2 separate regions of the Homo sapiens genome follow, and region 2 is linked to region 1. The links are contacts of gene promoters, found by promoter capture Hi-C in blood cells and fetal thymus (Javierre and others, 2016). All regions are on one chromosome and are shown on one strand. Each heading gives the region's core, a stretch centred on a gene start or on the middle of the fragment in contact. The rest is flanking DNA. Distances are from core to core; before and after follow the strand shown. Region 1 holds the start of PKHD1L1 (PKHD1 like 1). Region 2 overlaps PKHD1L1 (PKHD1 like 1).

Region 1 (6,832 bases), core at 1,662-4,161:
TTTGTTAGCTATGAAAACTTTTCATTTCTTAAAGACCAAATAATAGATTTTGCTAATATTTTTAAATGTTTCTTATTGTTCAAAAATTCCTAAGTATCTGAATACTGGTATCACTTATATTGCAAAGGTCTTATGGCTGAAAGAAACACATATTTCTATTTAAACCTAGGAAAAGCTGTGCATTAAATATATTTACTGATTGCCTTCTACATTTCATCCTAAGACCAGGCAAGGAGAAGGGGAACCATGTACGGTACTCATGCCTTTATGAAGCCTGAGGTTGGGTGGCAGGAGAAGGAATCTAAAGTTTTGTTTTCTATTGCCTTTCCTCTTTCATTAACATATTATTTCTCTATTATACTTTCTTATCAACATTCTACCCAACACCCACAAAATGTTTTATTTGATCTTAAAATAAATTAAATGTTATTAGACTCATGAAGAATAAAGCAAATAATTGCTGAGTTGGGTTAATTGCATTCCTTTTAGTTCAGTCATTAATCCAGATCTTGATGTTAAGCAAGTCAGTATAATAAGAATTCAGATGATCAGGTTGATAAAGACTCTTGGGGATTTCACTAGCTATCAAAGAGGACAGAGTTTTACTATTCTGGCCAAGTGAAGAAATAACTCCAGTGGTGCTTGTTTGTTTGTTTGTCCATAAAGCTCTAAATATGAAATAGGCTTGAAAATACCTCAACCTTGGCAAAAAAAAAAAAAAAAAAGCAACGATACCTTCCCCTCTTATAGTCAGCCTTGTTGCTCCATTTATACTGCCATATTTAGGTATTATTTCTGTGACTTTGGGGATTATTTGAGAGCCATCTGAAAAATATTAAAATACAGTAGAGGTAAAAATCACCAAGTTCTTCATTTCAGTCATCAAAATTTGTAACACATACCACAAGGTTGCAAGGAAAACATTATGAAGTTTACAGGATTGAAAGTAAAATTCACCCAGGTTTTATTTTTGGCTCTGCCAATGACTTGACAGAGTCATTAACTTAGTTAATACCCACTGGCTTTGTGCAAAGCACTATCTTAGGTGCTACCAAGAGCAAAAATAACACGTGATCATTTTCATCACTTACCTATCATATTATAAAACACGTATTAAATCCTTAATTTCATGTAGTGCTCTGCTAACTGCAGATCTATAACTATGCTTAACAGCTCACCTAACAGCAGACACCAAGAAGAAATAGGTCATTATAAGAGCACAGAAGAAATGCAATGCTAGGTAGTTTGAAAGACTAGACCAGGTACAAAGAGAAATGTTGGTTTTGAGAAGAAATTATTTTCTGTGAGGGAGTGTGGCTTCAGGAAAGATAATTTCTGAGATTCTTCTAGCCTCCTGATGATAGTGAGTTCTTAATATAAAGGTCACTAATTCATTCAACAAACTGTGTTAGCTTCCTGGAGATACATAAATGTGTAACAGTCCTAACTTTCCAAAGGCTTAGGTTAGACAGTACCAAGAGACAGAGGAGAGCATAGAGGCCACGGGTGCCTCAAGGAGCATTTCACCCACGCTGCTTGTGTCACACTGGCTTCTATAAAGAAGACATGCCCCTTCCACATTTTTAAGGACAAATATGAATTAGACTGGACCAGTTGTCAGAAAGATAAAGATAGTTCTAGATAGAGGGAACTGCCCGGGCAAACAGGATTGTGTGAGCTGCTTCTTTGGAGTATTGCAAATAATTCTTTAAAACAACTCAAAGCTACACAGTGGATAGAGGTGTTTATTTTCTGCTTACACTGTACAGATCTAGTAATTGCTGGAATCCTAAAAGAAATTTTCACAGTAGGTAGAAAAATTTAAGGGATGATACAAAGAAAGGCCACAGAAATTATTAATTTCTCAAAATGGATGTATATAAAAAGGCTAAGGGAATTATGATTGGCTTGTTCAGTTCTGTCTTAAAAAGGTTTAGAGTGGACTTCACCTATAGTAGCAAAAGCTCTCCAACATAAAGGAGACCAGTTCCGAGGCCCCAGACCCAGTGCCTCTGTACCTCGGGTCTGTCTTTGCCAAGAGCTCCAAGGTGTTCTTATTCCCGCACATTCATATCTCAGGGCAGCCCAAGAGTAGGAAACTCCAGCGGGGAAGCTGGATCCTATCTCCAGACAGTGCTGCTCCTCGCCTATCTCAGGTTCATCCTCCTGTTATCTCCACAGACAACTCCAATTTCTTATCTTATCAGTCTCTTCCCAGCCCTCTTCTGGGTATTACTTTGAAAACACAGGGCAGCTGCCCCTGGAAATGACTGACACCTGCCACGAAGTCCCATCCCCGTCCTACTGGGGGTTGTTGCCCTTTCTGTTGTGAGGAAAGCGACCCAAGAAGAATGGAGGAAAAGGGACTCAGGTTGCCTCTTCCCAGTCCCCACTCCCCCGCCAAATTTCAGTCTACTTGTGTCACTTTGTGGGTGCCGGTGGGAGATTTCATCATTCAAGTAGCAGCATTGATGAGTTAAAAGGCAATCTCTCGCAATCTCTTTCTCTGTGTCCTTGTCTCTGTTTCTCTCTCTCTGCGTCTGTCTCTGTTTGCTAGGCCTGCTATCCAGCTCCCCTGGTCCCCAGGATCGTCATGCAACCGCACCCACAGCCTCAGCCAGGTGCCAGGTGGTCCTGCCTCTCCCAGGACCCCGGGAGCAGGGGTAGTGTCTACGCGGGCCTCTCCTGCTTGCCTGCCTAGCGTGCCCAAAGGGTTACCTGTGCTGGGATCCGCGGCACACAGGAGCAGCCCACAGAGGCCCCAAATACCCAGGAGCCACAGGTGTCCCATTGAAAAGCCAGTTCTGCGGAGTTGGTGCCCTCCGCTCGCAGCTGGCTCTAGTGCTGGAGCTCGGCTCCTGGGACTGCGACTCGCTGGCGGGCCCGCTTCGTCCCGGGAGAGCTGGGGAACTGGGCCGCCCTCCCGTGGCCTGCCCCGCCCCTGCTGTCGGGCTGCTCCTCTGGGATTTGCATGCGCGCGCGGACACACACACACACACACACCCTGGAACCTTCGCGGGAGAACCAAGCCGGCCCCGAGCCAGTCCGTGATAATCAAACCTCCACACTCAAACCTGGGTGCTGCCTTCCCAAGGCTGTCCCCATAGGTGGAAGGGCCTTACTCCTTTTGGCGAAAGGAATCAATGGTCATTGAGGTCTCCCTAGGTCTCCTTCTCTATTTTCTTTTTGTTTTTTTTCTTTTCTTTTCTTTTCTCTCTTTCCCCGCGTACTTTCATCTGCCTGTCTGCCTTGGTCATTAATCCTCCCCAGGTGGGCCTATAAGACCACCTAATACACAAACCCCACGCGTGTTTACCCCTTCACATTCATATGAGATTGTGCTCTCTCTTTAATTGACAATCAGTAGACTTAGGGCGAAGGCTTACTGTTGGCATGGAGGGAGGTCCAGCACTGCTGACCTGTTTCTGGGATGCCAGATAGCAGACGAATGAAACGCAAGTTTCTCTGACCTCCCTGGAGAAGGCAGTTTATTATTCACCACTGAATGCTCCCCAGGGGCTAATTCCAAATCCTCTCACTGTTCTTAATATCTTAACCTCAGGATCTCTTGATTGCCCACCTCTCCCTACTCTTTAAAAGGTGAGAAGGGGCTGGGCACAGCGGCTCACGCCTGTAATTCCACCACTTTGGGAGGCCGAGGTGGGCGGATCGCTTGAGGTCAAGAGTTCGAGACCAGACTGGCTGACATGGTGAAACACCATCTCTACTAAAAATACAAAAATTAGCCTGGTGGGGTGGCGCATGCCTTGTAATCCTAGCTACTTGGGATGCTGAGGCAGGAGAATTGCTTGAAGCCGGGAGGCGGAGGTTGCAGTGAGCTGAGATCACACCCCTGCACTCCAACCTGGGCGACATAGTGAGACTCCGTCTCAAAAACAAACAACAAAAAAAGATGAGAAGATCCACCTACCTAGTTTGCAGTTTCTACATTTTAAAATGTTATGTGTTTTTAAAAGATATTAAAAGATTATTACCCAAATAGCAATGCATAAGCTTCTATTGGATCCTGGTTTGTAAAAAATAATAATAATAATATAAAGCTATGAAGGACGTTTGCAGAACAAATTAGGGAAAGTGAATATGGATTAAGTAACAAGTATTGAAAGATATTATAGAAGCGTTCATTTTATTAGGTATAATAGTGGTATCATACTTTAGTCAAAGAGTGTTTTCAAGTGATGGAATTGCATGATGAGGTATTTGGGGTCATAGTGTCTTTATGTCTGGAATTTACTTCAAAATGGTTTTGCTGAAAAAAAATCTGGCAAATTTTAAACAATGTTTGAATTTAAGTGTAGGTATGATCCTTTGCACTTTTTTATTAGTTTAAAAATTTTTATAAGTAGAAAATTTTAAATTCTCTTTCTTTCATTCCCTCCCTTCCTTCCTTCCTTCCCTCCTTCCTTTCCTTTTGTTCCTCTCTTTCGGGAAGAAGTATTTTTCTTCCATGACATGGTCAATCCCCTCTTTGAACTCTTTGTGAAAACTCTTCTCTTCCCATCTTACTGATTATTATTCTAACAATATCCCCCTTATCTCACTTCTAATTACTTCACTTTCCCCTTTCTCCTCTTTTCCTAGAAAGATATACAGTATTCATTACTAAAAAACTAAACACAAACCAAAAATCCTTTCTTTTCTTCTTAATTGAGGCAAACTCTCTAGTTTACTTGTTATTAAACTTCTTGAAAGAGTTGCCTGTTTTAGTAAACTCCTTGTTCAAGGTCACTGTCCACCTACTCATTCATCTATCATACAAGGCCATCTGTGTTCCAGGGTCTGTTCTAAGTACTTGCTGGGGGATGGAGGAAAGGTAGAGGTTGGGAGTAAGGTTGACAGATAAAATACAGGCCACCCAGGTAAATTTGAAATTAAAATAAGCAACAAATTATTTTTTCCAGTTTTAAGTATTTCCAAGCAAGATTTAGAACATACATATGCTAAAAATTGTTCAGAGTTTATCTGAAATCCAAATTTAACTCAGCTTTCCATAATTTTATTTACTAAATCTGACAACTCTAGTTGGGAAAGAAGAGAGAAGAAATAGAAGAAAGAATCCTAAAATAAGTGAAGTTAGGCCCTTATTCTTGAGGAGTTTATATCTGTCTAGTGGGGTTAAGAAAATAATTTTCAGTCTGGGCAACAAGGCGAGACCCCCATCTCTATAAAAAATTTAAAAAGTAAATAATTTTTAAAAATTAGTCATGCATGGTGGTGCATTCCTGTAGTCCCAGAAACTCAAGAGGCTGAGGTGAGCAGATCACTTGAGTCCCAGAGGTCGAAGCTGCACTGAGCCATGATGGCGCCACTGCACTTCAGCTTGGGAGACAGAGACTGACTTTGTGTCCAAAAAAGAAAGAAAGAAAAAAAGAACTGAAAAAGAAAAGTAAATAATTTTGCTATCTAGTTATATTCATCTCATAAATTTTTGGAATCCCTCTCCATGTCATCAGCTACTGAAAATTGTGCCTATAAAGGTAAAGTATGTAACAGTATATACTTCGCCACGGTAACAGTCCACGGCCTGGGGGTTGGGAATCCTTACCATATTATAAACTGAAGTTGTAATTTTTAATGAGAAACCATTAAATTAGGCAGACTTCCCTGCAGATACAATTCATATAATTTATAACAAAGAGGAAAACTTTCTTAAGTATTGAGTGTATCAATAAAGTGCTTCAAATTTTTTATGTTGACTTCTGTTTTGCCAAACTTTTAAAAGATTTTTTTCACCAAATTTTTAGATAGTATATCAACCAGCAAATGGCATGCAACATCCAAAATATAATTTGGTTACTTCTATTGTGTCCTATTTTATTTTTCTACTTAACACATACTAATTGCATGGTTTATTATACTAGTTTCTTTCAGATAGCTTCACTTTCTTTCACACTTAGTCTTCTTAGAATAAGTAAAATATATATAAAGTATGTATTAGGTATACATATTATATACGTACATATGTATTCAATATTATACATATATATAATGTTTTTCTGTATGTATCACCATTAGTCACTCACATTAAACAATCATATTAAAGCTAGTAAATACTATTAAACTACAGTCATCTAAGTTGGCAAATTTAGCACATTAGTCATTCAGCAAAATGATCATTGGACCAATTAGCTTCAGGAAAGTTGATTTCTGGTAAATTAGCCTTCTTTCTTGTCTTATAATGCCTAAAAAAAAAGCCCCATAATTTGCATATATAAATTTTTAATAAATTTTTGTGGAATGAATGAGCATCTTTAACTGATTTTTCCCTTTAAGTAGTGCTTATTTATATGATAAATAAATGTCCTAAAAAAGATCACACCAGTGAGAATTTTGGTCTTCAATTATTAAAATAATTGGATGGGATAATGTCCCAATAAATAATTGTAACTAGATGGAGATTCATATAACCAAAATGTCAACTTGGATCCAGAAAAAGCAGTTATGTAGTTGATGTAATTTATGATTTAATTTGTGTTCATTTTTACAATCTTCAAACCTTTGCAACATAGATTCATCATGGACATGAGAAAACATGAAAGTAGAATCCTGATCATTAAAGCCCGCGTTTCTTTTGCAGGTTTTCAAAAATCTAGCTCTAACAAAACCCTGCCTAAAGGGCCAGGATAGTGAGTGTGACCTGTGCAATCTCATAGGGCCCATACTCGGTTTAATACTCTGCTGTCATCTTGGGATCCTTAATATTTTTTGAGCAAGGGACTTCCCCTTTTCATTTTGCATGAGACCTCACAAATTATGTAGTCTGTTCTACTGGCCCATATGGTGAAAAAAGAGACTGTTTTTAAACTTATTG
Region 2 (6,832 bases), core at 2,282-4,781, 46 kb before region 1:
CATTTTGTTGAGCTTACCTGATTATAAGGAAACAATAAAATATCTCCATATGGTCGTCTGTTTGGTTTAACATCTGCTGAGTCAAAAAGAACAGCTGGGTTTTTCAGGGAATAACGACCACAGTAAGCATCGGTTTCAGCTGTCTTCTGCCCTCTGTTAATATGTTCCTACCGAAACAATAATATTTCAAATGAAAACATGATTTATTGTTCTGGTTTTCCCCCAACGTGTGCACCCAAACCACTCAAGGTTCAACCCAGATCCCATTGTTTCCCTGATTACTTTAACTTTAGATGTTTTCTTCCTTGTCTGAAATCTAAAGCTCTCATTCGGATCCATAATTATATAATCCTTTATACCAGTATTTGACTAGTTCCCAAGTTTGATTTTTTTCCTTACTTTGTGAGCTCTTTACGGGTATTTATTCATTCTCTCCATGAGTGTTTATGCAGTGTTTACTGTGTGTCAGGTTTCTGCTTGTTTGCGTGTTTGCTGTTTAATCTTCAGGATTCAAGTGGTGAAGAACCCTATCCCCCTGTAGATAGAGGCCACCCGTCTAAGACAAAGAAGCCAATGATTATCGTACTAAGGCTCAAGGGAGGCATCTAACTCACATAAAAGCATCAAGAAAGATGACTCAGGGGAAGTGACAAATGAGTTAAGTCTTTAAAGATAAATAGCAGCTGTTGGAATGGAAAAGAGGTGTCAAAGGCACTGTGCAAATGGTAAAAAGAAAGTAGGGGCTTCAGAGAGAGTCCAAAATGTGTGCAAAAAAGCAGAGGTGTGAGAGAGCATGGTGCTGGGAATGCAAACTGTAAGGTTAGGTGCAGCATGGAAATGCATGTGAGGGTGGTGATGAGAAATGAAGTAGGAAAGGAGTAGGAGGTAAATTACATGTACCATCCTCATGGCTGCTAGTACTACGTTCAAAATAGAACATAAATACACATATGCTTATTAAATGAAGTTGAAAAGTTCATCTATTAAATGGAAAGATTTTTTCTCACTAATCTGCTCATGAAAAGTATCATGAGAGATATTTTTAAGGATTTATATTCATATCCAGGGTATTAATCTGAATTAAATAACTAGAGTATACATTTTTTATTCTTACAGTTTTTCACTTGGAAATAGCAAATAGCTGGCTTCCTGAAGTCTTGAAAATGAGAATTAGAAAGCACATATTCAATTTTCTTCCTTTACTCTATATTAAAGAAAATATCTCATTAAGAAATAAATAATGACTGGGCCGTGTACTAATTAACCAGAGTGTTATGTCGAGAAGCAATTATATAAAACTACATAATACATAAAAACATATAATGCCCCACCATAAATTATAATCTCTGAAGTCAATGAGGAGAAAGGATATACTGTGCATCCAAGCTAAGAAAACAAAAACCAAGGCCGGGTGCGGTGGCTCAAGTCTGTAATCCCAGCACTTTGGGAGGCCAAGACGTGCGGATCACGAGGTCAAGAGATCGAGACCATCCTGGCCAACATTGTGAAACCCCGTCTCTACTAAAAATACAAAAATTAGCCAGGCATGGTGGCGCAAGCCTGTAGTCCAAGCTACTCGGGAGACTGAGGCAGGAAAATTGCTTGAACTTGGGAGGTGGAGGTTGCAGTGAGCCAAGATCGTGCCACTGCACTCCAGCCTGGAGACAGAGTGAGACTCCGTCTCAAAAAAAAAAAAAAAAAAAAAGAAAAAGAAAAGAAAAGAAAAAAGAAAATACCAACAAAATTACATGATTTTGGATCTGCGTCCCCACCAAATCGCATGTTGAATTGTAATCCCCAAAGTGTGAGGTAGGGCCTGTTGGTAGGTGATTTGATCACGGGGGTGGATTTCTCATGAATGGCTTAGCACCATCCCATCGGTGCTGTTCTCATGATAGTGAGTGAGTTTTCACAAGGTCTGGTTGTTTAAAAGTGGGTGGCACCGCCCCACTCTCTTCTCTTGCTCTTCACCAAGCCAAGTGACGTGCCTGTTCCCCCTTTGCCTTCACCATGATTGAGAGTTTCCCAAGGCCTTCCAAGATGTCGAGCAGATGCCAGCATCATGCTTCCTGTACAGCCTACAGAACTGTGAGCCAATTAAACCTCTTTTCTTTCTAAATTACCCAGTCTAAGGTATTTCTTTATAGCAACGCAACAATGGCCTATACACAAAATAAACAAAAACACTGCAAATCTTACCTTTGATCAGCTTTCCTACTTTCTAGCAAGAAAATTCATGAGTAGTAAAAATTTTTTAACAAACGAATCATAGACGGCAGTACCAATAGCACCTACCAACAGCCCTTACAACAAATGTATAACAAAGTCATTTTTGCAATTTGACTGTGAATAACAAAGTTATTAATGCTACTTCAGAAGAGAAATTATAAAATTTAAAACCATTATATAAATTCTTATTAGGTCAGTTTCACAGTTCATTAAATATTTCATACCAGATTAAAATCAGTTTCATAGTCTCTGAAATATTTCACAACAAATCCTTCTTCAAAATTTGCAATTTGTGGTGGACACTTAGTGCTAACCATTTCTTCCACTGCTCCCTGAAACTAAATTAACAATATAAACATTAGTAACTTCTTTTCATGAAAAGTTAGAACACTCGTAATCCTACTACTGATTCTACTAATTAGTTTTAATAGGACATTTTCATAATTCCCATATTTTAGTCATGATTATGAGTTAATTTTCTAAATAATTTTAAGTTAGTGTGATAATTTTAGTGTCTAATGAGTTTTCAAGACTTTTATTCTAGAATAACAATAGTTACATACAATTGGCTAATAATAGCATACTTAGTTATAAGGCAGACATATTTGTTTAGTACCTTTTTAAAGAGAGCAATGAAGCAAACCTAAATTAATTAGTACCCAATTAGATAGATTCCAAATAAATACTTTTTCCAAATAACTCAAAATTAACTGGAAAAAAAAAACTATACACGCCAATGGATTCTGGCCAACATGGTGAAACCCTGTCTCTTTTAAAAATATAAAAATTAGCTGGGCATGTGGCAAGCGCCTGTAGTCCCAGCTACTCAGGAGGCTGAGGCAGGAGAATCGCTTGAACCCAGGAGGTGGAGGGTTGCAGTGAGTGGAGATCACACCACTGCATTCCAGCCTGGTGACAGAGTGAGACTCCGTCTTGAAAAAAAAAAAGGTTACATGCATATACTGTAAGCTTGTATTTATAATTATTCAAAAAATAATAAATTATTGCAGATTATGCAGAAATTAGTACATATTCACAAGTCTCCTAAAATTTCCATATCATTTTCTCCAGCAAAGCACAGAAATAATTGTCGCTTAGAATTAAGGGCTTGAGACAATATATACTCTTTAATCTGCAAACAGATTTTAACTTAAATTCATTGTCCAGATAGTTGTCAAAATGTTGTAACTCACAAGCATTCTTTCTTTATGAATGGCTGCCCCCTATGGAGATACATTAGGCCCTGTTGGCACAGACCTAAGATCTTCCCTTTCCTTCTCTTGTCTTTGGAATATTTCCTCCCTTCTCTCCTCACTACGGGTAGGCTCCAACCTATCACGCCAAATGGAAGAATGTATTACTCCTCCTTAAAGTGTTCTTTATAAAAGGTTGACATTTAAATGGTGTTCTGTTTAAACGTCTCTCCTCTTTGAAAGGATGCTCCACTAGTGGAATCTCATTGATCTTTTTGACCCTTTTTGTTGGGTAAAGTCTTAAAATTTGCTGAGTTAGGATTTGGGTACCATATTTCTTAAGGTCTCTGCTGAAGCCTTAAAATTTCTCTCTGATGTATAAAAATACATCAATAAAATAATAGGATATTTAAACTAACCAATACTTTATAGCTAAGCTTTTATTGCACTACATCTCTCAAGGAATTTCTGATTTTACAGGATAACAAATTGGATGTTGAGTGAAGAACAACTCCAGTGTGCATAGAGGGACTCAAAGCTTCTACACATAGGCAGGGCAAGGCTTTGGAACCTTTGAGATATGCCTTGTCTGGAAAAAGAGGTGGCTGCACTAGGTTGACTCTTAGTCTCCTTTCAGATAAAAGTATCACAGTATATAAATTGTGGTGAGTTGATCAGGTGATAAATAATTTGCAGTGATTTTTTTTGAAGTAACATCTCTTTCCCATCTGTCTACAAATGGCCCATGAATGATGTGAGAGGGTGCAGGGAAAATGCGTGGTAGAAACATTCCTACACCGTACTTCAGCTTCTGATGACCATAGAGTGAGTGGCTTAGAAGCGATCCCATCCCAATTCAGTGTGAATGTCTCCAAGTTGGGTTTTCCTTTGGTTTGTTCTGTAATATCCAGTGTGACATTATTCCCTTCAACTACTTCATAACCAAGCAGATCAAAGTCTCCTGAAATTAAGTGACAAACAGAATTTGTAGACATTAACTAATAAAATGCCTATATATAAAACTATATATTTTATATATATTTAATAGACACTCAAATGTAGCCAAATTGGTTTCATTTGGTGCTCCATTATCAGAAAAGAAGGAAGAATGGGGGCGATGTAGATCCTTAAAATTTGAGCAGATTTATCCATAGCATAAATAGCAAAGCAGACAAAGTGCTATATATTTAAGGTGCTGTTTCTATAGCTTAAAAGGAAGTATTGTAAGATAGACAGATGTATTAGGACCATGAATAAAGATCAATGAGTAGTAGGATATTCCAAAAATTCTTTTAGTTTTGTGCTAGTACCATTATTTTAGTGCAAATGCTCAGCTGGAATATTTCTATTTTCTTTAGACATGAATAGGGCACAAAGCTGAATTCCAGGAAACAATCTCTGATCTGTGAGGTTTGTTCATACCATGCCACTTAGTATGATAATCATTGGCTTTGCCACTTTGAGAGGAATAAGGCCTGTCCTCAAATGTCTCTCTTCTTTGAAAGGATGCTCTACCAGTGGAATCTCATTGATCTTTTTGACCCTTTTTGTTGGGTAAAGTCTTAAAATTTGCCCAGTTAGGATTTGGGCACCATATTTCTTAAGGTTTCTGCTGAAGCCTTAAAATTTCTCTCTGATGTATAAAAATACATCAAAAAGGATATCCATATGTTTATTCATAAGTATTTTGACAATCTAACTTTTGTACACTTTTTAAAACTTAAATTCATGTAAAATCAAATTCTTTATCCTCCACTCAACAATCAAATAAACAATTACATAAAGTGAGACATAAATATTGAAGTAACATTTTACTTACATATTGAAAAACAATGATTGCCCAAAGAAAAGTAAACACACACACATTCAGGGACCTACTTTCTGAGCTAAATATACCAAAAAGCCAAATTAGTTGCGAAGTCTGACTTGAAGGCAGAATGTCTATGTCAATATTTCCAAAAGTGTTTTGTGTAAAACATTAATAGGCGGTTAATAGCTATTACTTGAAAAAAGATGGAAATATAAAATACGTTTGCATTAAACACAGGTAAATTGATTTTTTTCTTTTTCCTTTTTTTTTTAATACTGCAGGACTCCTCAGGGATTTTAATATTCCAATGAGCTCTGTCAATCTTCAAGGAAGACCCATGGTATACAGTGTCTCCCATGTGAATTTGACCTCAAAATCCTTTCAGTAGGCAAGATTTGACCAGATGAGTGTCTCCTGGACAATAGTGATTTGCCTAAATTTTATTTTCAGAATGAATATTTTCACTAGTTTTTACTAATTTATAAAGTAGGCTATTATATGGAAAACGCATTTGTAGTATGTATAGTGCATTTCTCATGCATTAGAGTTGTACATTCCTTGAAATACAACTAAAATTTAAATTACCGTAGAAAAAACCATTTAATTTCTGCTTCTCCTAAGATTAACCAAGTCTTTTTCTCTGTCATCTTATGGAACTTTTAGAGTGGCACAGGATATACATTTGTTTCCTACAGAAGTACAAAATTAAGTACATGCTTACCTCTAGTTGATATGAATGTTACCATGTAGACATAGCTCTGGGGATTTTGTGTTCTTATTACTTGAACTGTGTCCGGTTTTATAGACCAGAGGTCATTCAAGGCTGATTGCAGTATGAATTCAGAAGCATCAGCAGGTAGGAAGACTTTGATTGGATTAAAACAAACAAACAAACAAACAGAAAAGTTGAAATCTTTCTGAGCTACTGCAGCCAACACTGATGTCTCGTATTTATATTTTTAAAGCACCTATACTCTGTACCATGTAAGTTATCACTTAGAGAAATTGTATTTTGAAACTGATTCAAGTTCAGTAATATTGACTATTTAATTAATTTGTGATCTCTTTGAGGACAGGGCTGATATTTTATTGTTTTAATATTCCCACAGTAATAATCATTGGATTTGGCAAAGAATAAGCAATCATCAATATTTACTGGTTAAAACAATTAACAGTAGTAGCAAAAGTTGTATTTTAGGATTTATTGTAAAATATAGAAATGCAATGTTGTTTATTGGCTGATAAATTGGTGTTCCATAGGCCTATCATTTAATTTAAAAAATTGAAAGACATGTTTACTTCTGTGCAATGATGAATTTAATTCCTTTTAAATTTTTTATTTTTATTGTAAGTTCTGGGGTACATGTGCAGGATGTGCATGTTTGTTACATAGGTAAACGTATGTCATGGTGGTTTGCTGCACCTATCAACCCATCATCACCTAGGTATTAAGCCCAGTATGCATTAGCTATTTTTCCTAACCTAATGCCCTCCCCGTGCCGACCCCACCCCCCAACAGGCCCCAGTGTGTGTTGTTCCCCTCCCTGTGTCCATGTGTTCTCATTGTTCAGCTCCCACTTATAAGTGAGAACATGCAGTG

The links. Contacts are between HindIII fragments. The CHiCAGO score rates a contact against its expected background, and 5 or more counts as called.
Region 2: a contact is called between a fragment that was not itself captured here and the fragment with the promoter of PKHD1L1 in region 1, in 1 of 17 cell types (megakaryocytes). The highest score is 5.9, in megakaryocytes.

The regions. Positions count from the first base shown.
Region 1 is chr8:109,358,540-109,365,371 of GRCh38, reverse strand. PKHD1L1 (PKHD1 like 1) reads right to left here and starts at 2,911. Exons shown (of 78, transcript NM_177531.6): 1 at 2,719-2,911; 2 at 736-825. The coding sequence starts at 2,791. The HindIII fragment of the contact is 8,587 bases long and covers 1-4,016 here.
Region 2 is chr8:109,405,600-109,412,431 of GRCh38, reverse strand. It overlaps PKHD1L1 (PKHD1 like 1), which reads right to left. Exons shown (of 78, transcript NM_177531.6): 17 at 5,954-6,097; 18 at 4,226-4,383; 19 at 2,454-2,567; 20 at 18-167. Among named protein-coding and RNA genes, the nearest start is that of PKHD1L1, 47 kb to the right of the region's middle. The HindIII fragment of the contact is 661 bases long and covers 3,201-3,861 here.